3 separate regions of the Homo sapiens genome follow, and all the other regions are linked to region 1. The links are contacts of gene promoters, found by promoter capture Hi-C in blood cells and fetal thymus (Javierre and others, 2016). All regions are on one chromosome and are shown on one strand. The core of a region is centred on a gene start or on the middle of the fragment in contact, and the rest is flanking DNA. Distances in the headings are between cores, read along the strand shown. Region 1 holds the start of QSER1 (glutamine and serine rich 1). Region 2 overlaps LOC105376622 (a long non-coding RNA gene). Region 3 holds the start of DCDC1 (doublecortin domain containing 1).

Evidence for each region. The method cuts DNA at HindIII sites, captures the fragments that hold promoters and counts their contacts. A CHiCAGO score of 5 or more calls a contact.
Region 2: a fragment that was not itself captured here is called in contact with the fragment with the promoter of QSER1 in region 1 in 1 of 17 cell types (naive CD8 T cells); the score reaches 5.4 in naive CD8 T cells.
Region 3: a fragment that was not itself captured here is called in contact with the fragment with the promoter of QSER1 in region 1 in 1 of 17 cell types (non-activated CD4 T cells); the score reaches 5.0 in non-activated CD4 T cells.

What each region holds. Positions count from the first base shown.
Region 1 is chr11:32,891,348-32,894,493 of GRCh38, forward strand. QSER1 (glutamine and serine rich 1) reads left to right here and starts at 1,464. Exons shown (of 13, transcript NM_001076786.3): 1 at 1,464-1,987. The coding sequence starts at 1,779. RefSeq lists an enhancer at 1-389 and silencers at 1,137-1,756, 1,837-2,236. The HindIII fragment of the contact is 2,155 bases long and covers 948-3,102 here.
Region 2 is chr11:34,435,521-34,438,666 of GRCh38, forward strand. It overlaps LOC105376622 (a long non-coding RNA gene), which reads left to right. Exons shown (of 3, transcript XR_931180.3): 3 at 726-802. Among named protein-coding and RNA genes, the nearest start is that of CAT, 1.8 kb to the right of the region's middle. The HindIII fragment of the contact is 1,653 bases long and covers 969-2,621 here.
Region 3 is chr11:31,367,465-31,370,610 of GRCh38, forward strand. DCDC1 (doublecortin domain containing 1) reads right to left here and starts at 2,275. Exons shown (of 39, transcript NM_001387274.1): 1 at 2,233-2,275. It overlaps DNAJC24 (DnaJ heat shock protein family (Hsp40) member C24), which reads left to right and starts at 2,396. Exons shown (of 5, transcript NM_181706.5): 1 at 2,396-2,448. RefSeq lists an enhancer at 2,209-2,688. The HindIII fragment of the contact is 497 bases long and covers 1,594-2,090 here.

The DNA.
Region 1 (3,146 bases), core at 214-2,713:
TATCCTCAGTAAATGCATTTTGTAATTAACATAAAATTGGCAAAGTCGCTGTGCCTACACGTTTGAATTCATGTGTAAATAACGACTACTCACTTCCTTGCTTCCCCACCCGGGGACCAGGCTCCAAGCATCACAGGTGCAGAAAGACTTGCAAAAAGGAATGAATAGGAACAAAAGGATGTAGGCGCCAGGAGGAAAACAGGATCTTCCAGAACAAAATTAATCTCGCAAGGCATAGCAGATCCAACACCAGATTATTACCAAAGTTTAAACTTTTTCAATGGTCATCAGAGATAGCGTATCAAGTTTATTAGGTCTTTCACTACGGCTGATTTGCTTAAACCTTTATGTTATGCTTATCTTGAGGGATAGATTTCTGTGCTAAGCACATAATAGGTGTTAAACCAATATTGATTTTTAAAAGGAGGTGGTCATTAAATAGAAATTTTACTGTTATTTTAACCTTTAAATTTATGGCCCAAGGGCCAAACGATGATTTGTACGATTCCCTAGTTTCAATACTTGTGAGTTATTACAAGAAATACAACTCTGCTATGCAACAGAAGAACCGCAAATAGTCATTAAATTACCGCACACCAAGCAGCTTGGAGATCAGATAGGAAATGTTTGGGGAGAGAGTCCTGCTGAAGTTCCAAGTCTCAAACAAAACCCCTCAACATCAGAGTGCATGGTGAGTTTAAATTTATTGTAATTAAAGTCATCCAGATGGTAGTTGGATTAATCAATGAAGAGGTGGTTATCTATCTTGGGATAGAAGATTCTGAAACCCAGAGCGAGAAAAATCCCCAAGGTGGGGGTGGGGACAGTTAATAAGAGCCCTTGGGAAAGGCCCTTTCAGCGAGGATTGGAAAATAATACGTTTGAATTTGAATCTCTTTGAATATAAATCTCCCCTAACAGCAGGAAAAGGGTCCTCTAGCCCAGCAAGCTTTGGGGAGGGAGTAAGCGGAACTGCAAAAGAGCTCGCTCAGCTGTTTCTGGATTGGGGCGCAGAGAAAGAAATCGCGATCAGGGAACTGAGTACTGGAGTCCCTCAAAATAACCCGAAGGGTCAAATAGTGAGCTCCAAGCAAAGCGTTGACCCGGCTACCCCTGAGCAGCGCCCTACGCTGGGTTCCACTCCACTTCCCCTCCCCCGCGCGGGGCGATAGCCAGGCGCGGTCCCTTCCCACGCGGGCCGCGGCGAGTGCGGACAGCTCCCTTCCGGGCTGCGGAAGGCGGGAAGTCTGCGGTTCGCGGGCTCCGGCTGGCGGGCGCCCCTCGGAGTCCCTGAAGTCGGCCGGGCCCCGCAGGACCCGCGCCTTCTCGGCCCCAACTGTCCCTCGCGAAGCGTCCTGCGGTGGCGGAGGCCTCGCGGCCGCCCGCCAGCCCCGCGAGCGGCAAGCGCGGGGCTCAGAGGGGAGGCGGGGCAAGGCCGCGGGGCGGAGGGGGGCGGGAGGTGCATCCTGGGAAATCCACCAACATGGGGCGCAGCGGCCGCCGCCGCCGCCGCCGTCGCCGCGAGTCCCGGCCGCGGGTGCCTCCGCTTCCCTGACGCCCAGCTGGGGCCTCGCCGCCCGCCGCGGCCCGGGTCTTTGCGGCCCAGACTCGCCAGCGCGCCCTTCTCCCGCCTGCTCGCCGGGGCCATGTGAGGGGGCAGCTCCCTCCACCGCCGCCGCCCCCTCTTCCTCCCCCGCCCCCTCTCCCTGCCCGCCCCCGTCACACGGAGCCCTGGAGGATCCCCCGCTGCTGCCCGCCCTCCCTACGCCACCCCCACGATGGACAGGAACTACGCGACCTCGGGCTTCACCGAGCCGCCGCCGCCGCCGCCGCCCGCGCCCCCCGCCGCCCCCGTCCCCGCCAGCGCCGCTGCGCAGCCCCCCGCCCCAGCCTGGGCGTACGAACCCCGAGCCGCCGCCGCCGCCGCCAGCAGCAGCTGCAGCAGTGGCAGCTGCAGTAGCGGCAGCAGCCCCAGCCTCAAGGCCAGGTAGGGAGGGTGGGCGGCGGGGTCGCGGTGGACCAGGAAAGGCCGGGGATGCGTTTGGGGCCTTCGCTCGGTTGCAGCGCCGCCCAGAGGTCTGGGCCGGGCGGGGAGCCCTCCGCTCGCCCTCGGCCAGCTCGGGGGAGGCGGCTGATGACTCCTACGGGGTGGTCGCGGGTAGGTGGGGGCGCCCGGTGCAGGATTCGCGCCTGGGGACGGCGGGTGAAGGAATAGCTGGGCGGGAGTCGTGGGGCTCCGTCACCTCTTGGGTCCTGGGCTCTCACATGGTGAAGTTTGGGCTCGTGGCTGAACTCGGGATCTGTGAGACCCAGGATTGGCGCCGGGGGTCCGAAGGGGGCGCCGGAGAGTTTGGGGCAGTGGCGATCCATTGTATTGGAACCTGGGTGGCCGACAATGCGGTCTTGGGGACTCCGGCGTGTGAGGGTTGCGGAGGCGGGAGAGGAAGAGTCGCGGAACCGCGTCCCGGAGACACTGGGGGGCCCGGGAGGGCTGGGCTACGGGAGAATCCCCGGGGCGCAGGGCAGAAGAGGGGGCCCGGCAGGGCGCGAACGCGGCTCCAGGGCCGGGTGACATATGTTTGCGCTGGTGGCCAAGATTTAGGCGATTTTTCTTCCACGCGTTCAAAGTTGCTCTTAGGTTTCCTCCCCTTTTAACAACAGCAGGAAGTAAGGAATCTTTCTTTGCCTTCTATGCCTCGGGGTGACTGAGAGTTGGGAAGAAATGGGGCGGGGGTTGGGGTGGGGGTAGTGAAGGCCGTAAAGGTTGAAGAACCAAAGCATGCTTCTCCATCTCGGCCTTTAAGGTCCGGGTGCATTATGTAGCGTGGGGTTCAAGAGTTCATCTTGCATGACCAAGGGAATCTAAAATTTTGACTCCTACTTGATATTTAAGCTCGCGGGAAATGTGTAGTAGTGCCACACTGTGAAACGGTCCCATTTGAATGATAACTGGAAGGCGTGGTCTGGTTTGGAGAATTGGTGAGCGGGGTGTTTTAAAGCCACCTCTCCCGAACAATACAGAATCTGGTAGGTGCAGCTTCTGATTACATGGACCAGGGAATCCTGGGTTGCTAATGACTTCATCCTCAGCTACCAACAGGAAGCTTCGTGGCTTTATGATCTCATCAGATTTCTTCATTATTTTT
Region 2 (3,146 bases), core at 545-3,044, 1.5 Mb after region 1:
GTTTTTGAGACGGAGTCTTGCTCTGTCACCCGGGCTGGAGTGCAGTGGCATGACCCCGGCTCACTGCAACCTCTGCCACCTGGGTTCAAGCGATTCTCCTGCCTCAGCCTCACGTGCAGCTGGGACTACAGGCAAGAGCCACCACGCCCAGCTAATTTTTGTATTTTTAGCAGAGACAGGGTTTTGCCATGTTGACCAGGCTGGTCTTGAACTCCTGACCTCAAGAGATCCACCTGTCTTGGCCTCCCAAAGTGCTGGGATTACAGGCATGAGCCACCAGGCCTGGCCTATGTTTCCTTTTTTTGCAAACACCAGATCAGTAGCGTGGCACGTAAGGCCGAGGCGGGAAAAGGCACATCCATGTTCTTCTCCTTAGCATAGCTCATGCTATGGCCATCACCAGACACCAGAGGACATCTGGGTTGCCTCCTCCCAAGTAGGCAATTATTCATATTAAAGCGGGAAAGATATGGTGCAGCCAAATAGGCAGAGCAGAAGGTATGTGCTGCTACTGCATATAACACCACTGCTACTTTTTAAAGCAAATCCCACCTTCTTCTTTGGCTTGCTCAAGCCTGTTCCACAGTGAACAGGAGTCATGGAGCTGTGGTGATGTTTATTCTCTTCTCTTAAAGCCAACAGCCAATACTGAATTGTAACTCTCTTTGTTTCTTGTTGTGTTCTTTTCTCTTCCTTTTTGCCTAACTCTGAATTTACCTCACAAGGCCACTGTGAAGAGAATGAAACTGAAATATGTAGAACATTCTCGGCCTCTCTGAGGATGGGTGGAATCAGAACAGAGTAATTACCCCTTGTGCTGTCTTGTATGCCTGTCATCCAACAACACATGATGTTCATTCTCTCCATTCTTTTCTTGCAATACTGATGAAATAAAATTTGTCTATAAAGATTCCTAGCTGAGTACTCAAATGTTTTTCTTGAACATTTGTTACATGGTCTACTTTGCAAGCTTGGTTTCAAATTTGTTGATACCAGGATTAATAACAGTATGTCTTGTGCCAGTATATTTTATTTTCATTGAGTTCTGAAAATTGACTTCAGAGAACAGCATTTTTAAAATAACATTTTTATTTATATCAATAAAAATACCCATGAATTCATATGACTAAAATATTAAAACCTAGAACCCAATTTGTTTACCTAACCAATCACTTGCAATTACCTTTAGGTAATTGTATTGGTTTGGTTTCAAGTATTTTTTAACTAGGGCTGATTTTAAGAAGTGTTTTCATTTAAGCTGTAATTATAGTCGATAGAACTTCCACCTAATATGTGACTTTTTTTAATTTTTAATTTTTTTGAGATGAAGCCTCACTCTGTCACCCAGGCTGGAGTGCAGTGGCACAATCTTGGCTCACTGCAACCTCCGCCTCTTGGGTTCAAGTGATTCTCTCGCCTCAGCCACCTGAGTAGCTGAGACTACAGGCGTGTGCCACCACGCCCAGCTAATTTTTGTATTTTTAGCAGAGGTGGGGTTTTACCATGTTGGCCAGACTGGTCTCGAACTTCTGGCCACAAGTGATCCGCCTGCCTCGGCCTCCCAAGGTGCTGGGATTACAGGCGTGAGCCCCCGCACCCAGCCTCCTATGTAACATTATAAATTTATTGTCATTACTTGTAAGCCTGCCCTTTATTTTAAAATACAAGATATGACAAGATCAGAAACCAGTCTTGTTTCTCCATTTCTTTCTCTAGAAATAATTCTTTAGGAATTCAAATCCATAGTAACAAAAACAAAGGAAAAAAAAACATGCTTTTTTTTATATAATGAATAAAGGTTAAGAAATGACTCCAGGTCTCTTATTTATTTTGTTGATATTTGTGTTGGTTAGTTAAGAAGATGATTTGCTCGATTATTTCAACATTTATTTATTCAACAAACTGTGGACTTTGGAGATGAACAGCTGAAGCTAGAATCCTGACTATCCCTTAATAGCTGTGTAACTTTGGGCAAGTTATTTAACCTCCCTATACCTCTGTTTCCTAATCTGTAAAATGAAGATAATATTAGTATCTAACTCATAGGGTTGTTGGGAGGGTTAACTAAGCAAATATACAAAAAGCTGAGAATAGTCCCTGGTATATAGTAAGTGCTCAATAAATTATGGATGGGAGGATCCTGACCCACATGGAGTTTACAGTCTTGGCAGTATGGATCGGGCAGGTAGAAAAAGACACCAAATTACACAGCCAACAGCATCTTTATAATTGTTTTTAATATAGGAAAAGTATAGGGTGCTAAAGATCAATTTGTGGCTTTCTTTTCCAATGAACTGCTAAAGTTCCACTTTTATGCCCAAGATTCTTATCATACTTTTGTAAGATCAAGAACAACATGTGAAGTTTCCACTATTATATATCCACCCATTATATGTAGTTGTACTGGAAAAAATTAAAAGCTGATAACTTTTAATTTGAAGATGATGGTATATACTATGTATATATATTAAGGTGCTTAAAGATAAATCCTAGCACCTGAGGAGGTGTAGAAATCATTCAAACTCTTTGATTACAATGACAAACTAGTCAGTAACTTACTAAATATTGTACTATATATTACTAAGTATTTTACTCTTCAACATAGCTTTTTAAAGACACAAAGCTTTTCAAAATTCCTGCTTACCTGGGGGTAAAATTTGGGGAAGCAGATTTCTCCAGTGTTTAAAGAAGCCAATTTGGCAGTGTACCAGAGTTGAATACATTTTTCCCATCACAAGGGAATACATTTTTCCCATCTAAGTTAAGTTGTTTTTCTCTGGTAAAGGAGGAAATCAACACCCATCTGTACGGAGATAAACGTTTCAGAGTGTTTTTATATTAAATAATTAGTATACTAGTCTAGTAAGTGATAATCCACGAATAAGTTAAGAAGAGCTAAGAAAGAAAAAGAAAAGCATCCATCCATCCTTTGGTTGCAAATAATACTTACATTAGCGTATGGCAAAATTTAATTTTGTACAGAGTAATTTAACCCAGGATTGCTGACTTTTTAAGAGCTGAGAAAGCATAGCTATGGAGCGCAAGGCCCCACCCAGCAGGGTCTAAGTATTCCGTCTGCAAAACTGGCAGGCCACCAACGGCCGCGTCCCAGGGCGGCCTGAAGGATGCTGATAACCGGGAGCCCC
Region 3 (3,146 bases), core at 592-3,091, 1.5 Mb before region 1:
CCAATTGTTTAAATGTTTAATGTATGGAGATAATAGGGGAGGTTGGAAAAGTAAGGATCATATTGAAGAGGTAACTTGAATGCTAGGTTAAGGAGTTAGGACTTTATTCTCTAGACCTGCCCTGCTGGATACAGTAGCCACTAGTCACATGTGGCTACTGAGCATTTGAAATGTGCTAGTTCAAATTGAGGTGTGTTCGGGCACAATACATACCAGCTTTTGAAGACTTAGTAGGAGAAAAGAATGTAAAGTATCGCCTTAATAATTTTTAGATTAATTAATTTTGTAGCTTGCACTTACGGCTTACATTATATTTCTATTGGAAAGTACTGCTCTATAAAATGAAAAATGAAGGAAGCTTAATGATCAGAAATTTATGTAAAAATTGTTTTAAGAAGTTTATTTTGGTATAAGCAGAGTGTAAGACAACTGTTCTCATTCAGTAAGCCAATGGCAAGTAAAGAAAAAAACAAGGTTCTAGTGAAGAAATGGGACTGCTATAATTTAAAAGATATTTAAGAGACAGAACAGCTAAATGGAAAGTGTACATTTTGTCTGATTCTGAGTCAAGCAAACCAACCAGAAAAAGACATTTTCAATTAACCGTGGAAATGTAAGTAAGGTCTAGATATTATGTGACAGTCCAATAATGACATTATGGAGATAAAAGAAAAAGTTGGTACATTTTAGGGATGCAAACTAAAGTATGTAGAGATGAAATGACAAAATATTTGGTATTGCTGGGGAAAAAAACTATTTCTTACTTTCCAAACCCCAATAAATAAATAAGGTAACACAATAACCTAATAAATAGTAAATCAAAATAAAATGCTTTTGCTGTAAAAAACAAAAAACCTGGAGTACCGGAGCATATCTACCTACACAAGGAAGAACCAAGCTGTGGACAGAAGGGAGTTTGAGGGCTAGAGATGTTCAAGGTGGCATCATTCTGACAGTACTGTTTAGAAAAGCATTCACCACACTACTTAATTCCATTGCTTTAGGTATTTTCATGAGGCCACACAAGAAAGTATGATGCAGCCAGGACTAAAACCAGATGCTCTTTGTATCTGCCTTTAAACATGACAAAACCCTGTGGAGAACCTAATCTATGCTTTCATCTTTAGATTTTTAAACTTGCTTGTTTCATTCAGTTATTCTTTATAGTTCATAACATCATTAAATAACTGATCATATTAGATTATTTTATTTATTCTGCTTAAGTTTATCTTGACTGCTTCTCAAACTCAGATTGGTAGAAGTTTAAAAAAGAAGGAAAGCAAAATCAAAGCAGTAACAACAAAACCATTTTAACATCTCCAAGTGAAATTTATGTCATGCTGGCCAAAAATAAGATGTAGTTTTCATCTCCAGGTACAATGCTAGGAAGAGGTGTTAATGTAAAGTAAGCAGCACAAAGAAGTAATAAAAGGAAACACAGGAATCAAGAAAGGGAGAAGAAAGAAAGGTGAGAAAAACACCACCACCACCACCACCACCACCACCAGCAACAATAACAAACCCCAACAGTGCCCATATGCAGTGCCCCCTAACTGCTTCGAAGAAGAACAGTTCATTCTGCTTTTTTCTGTAAGCTTGAAAGATAGCATAGCTGCCCTGGGAATGTGTAGACTTGCTGAGTCCTTGTTCTGCCCCTACCCAACTAGCTGTTTGGCCTTGATCCTTGATTTCTTTCCTCATCTATAAAGTGGGAATAATGGCACCTGCCTTACTTGTCTCACTGGGTTGAAATGAAAGCGAAGTGAAATAGCAAATGTGAAAGAATTTTGGAACGTTTTTATGTTGTAAGTTGGTTGCTAAGGTCTAAAAGAAATATTAATAATTACGTCGAATATCTTCTGCAGAAAAAATTAAACCGACCCCATCCCCCGCACATCTAGCCCTACCTGGCATAGGTTTTAGTTCTTTTAATTTTCGAATTAGAACATTGTAAAGGAACTGTAGGGACGAGAGTGGCATCAGGTCTCCTCATCCTTCTCACATCCTTGCCCCCGCACCCCTCTCTCACCCCAGAGTTCAAGCACCAACCGAAAAGATTGAGAGTAGCTCAGGGTACGGTAAACGGAGGAAGCTTTGAAAAAGGCGGGGAAAGCCTGGGATGGCGAGGGGGTGCTCGCTGAGGAGGAGGAGAGAAGCGACAGTCGCGGGGCCCGGAAAAGAGAGACTTAGAGCGAAGCCAAAGGCGCCTTTCTTCACAGTTTGGGAACTTACTGGTAGTAAACGCCACTCCATAGAAGCGGTGACCGGTTACCATAGAGACCGCGTCGGGGTGGGCGGAGCGTCGCTTCTGAGCTGTGCCACGGCCACATCAGCTCGGCCAGAAACGCGAACACGTCGGAACAGTGACTTCCGGCGGAAGAAGAAGCCGGTCCGGAGTTCTGGCCGACAGCAGGCGAGGAGTGGGTAGCAGCGCCTATGTGAAGTTAGGTAGGTCTGATGTCGTATAAAGCGCGGAGAGGGTGCCCGCCAATGGCTGGGTGGGTAAAGCCGACTGTGAATGGAGAAGATTCCCAAGTCCCGAGCTTGAGGAGGCCCCGGCTGTTTCGTTAAGTGTATATAGCTGTGGGAAGAGGTTGCCTGATTTCTGGGGCTCCTGGTAGGGTCTCTCTTCTGGAGCGTGGAAGACTGGGGCATCCTCGCGTAGAGAGTTTCACTCTGTCTTTGCGAGGTCTCAGCGCCTCTCCAATAACAGGGGACTCTTGTTCTCTACCAGCTGGTGCTGACGTTATTTCCCATATCATGCTCTCCAGACAATCTGGAGGAAAAGCAAACGAGAAACTTTCAGAAGGAATGCCCCCAAATTTATTTTAATTCTTTGATGTTCTGTTTTGCTTTTTTTTTATTCGTTCATTTTGTAAATATTCATTAAGCTCCTCCAGCGTGTTTAGTGGGTGCTTACTTGTGTGCCAGTTTTATCATAAGACTAGCAGAAATACCTTCTTAGAGGTTCATACACCACCTGGTTCATTATAAAATTCTTTTTTTTAATGCTGTTCATTAATTAAAGTATAAATATATATCGTGAAATACCTAACACGTTTTCCATACTTGTCGGTACACTTATACCTGGAATTCTTGGGGCATTTTAAATGAAAATCTGTGCTTCCTCAGGTTTGCATTATAAT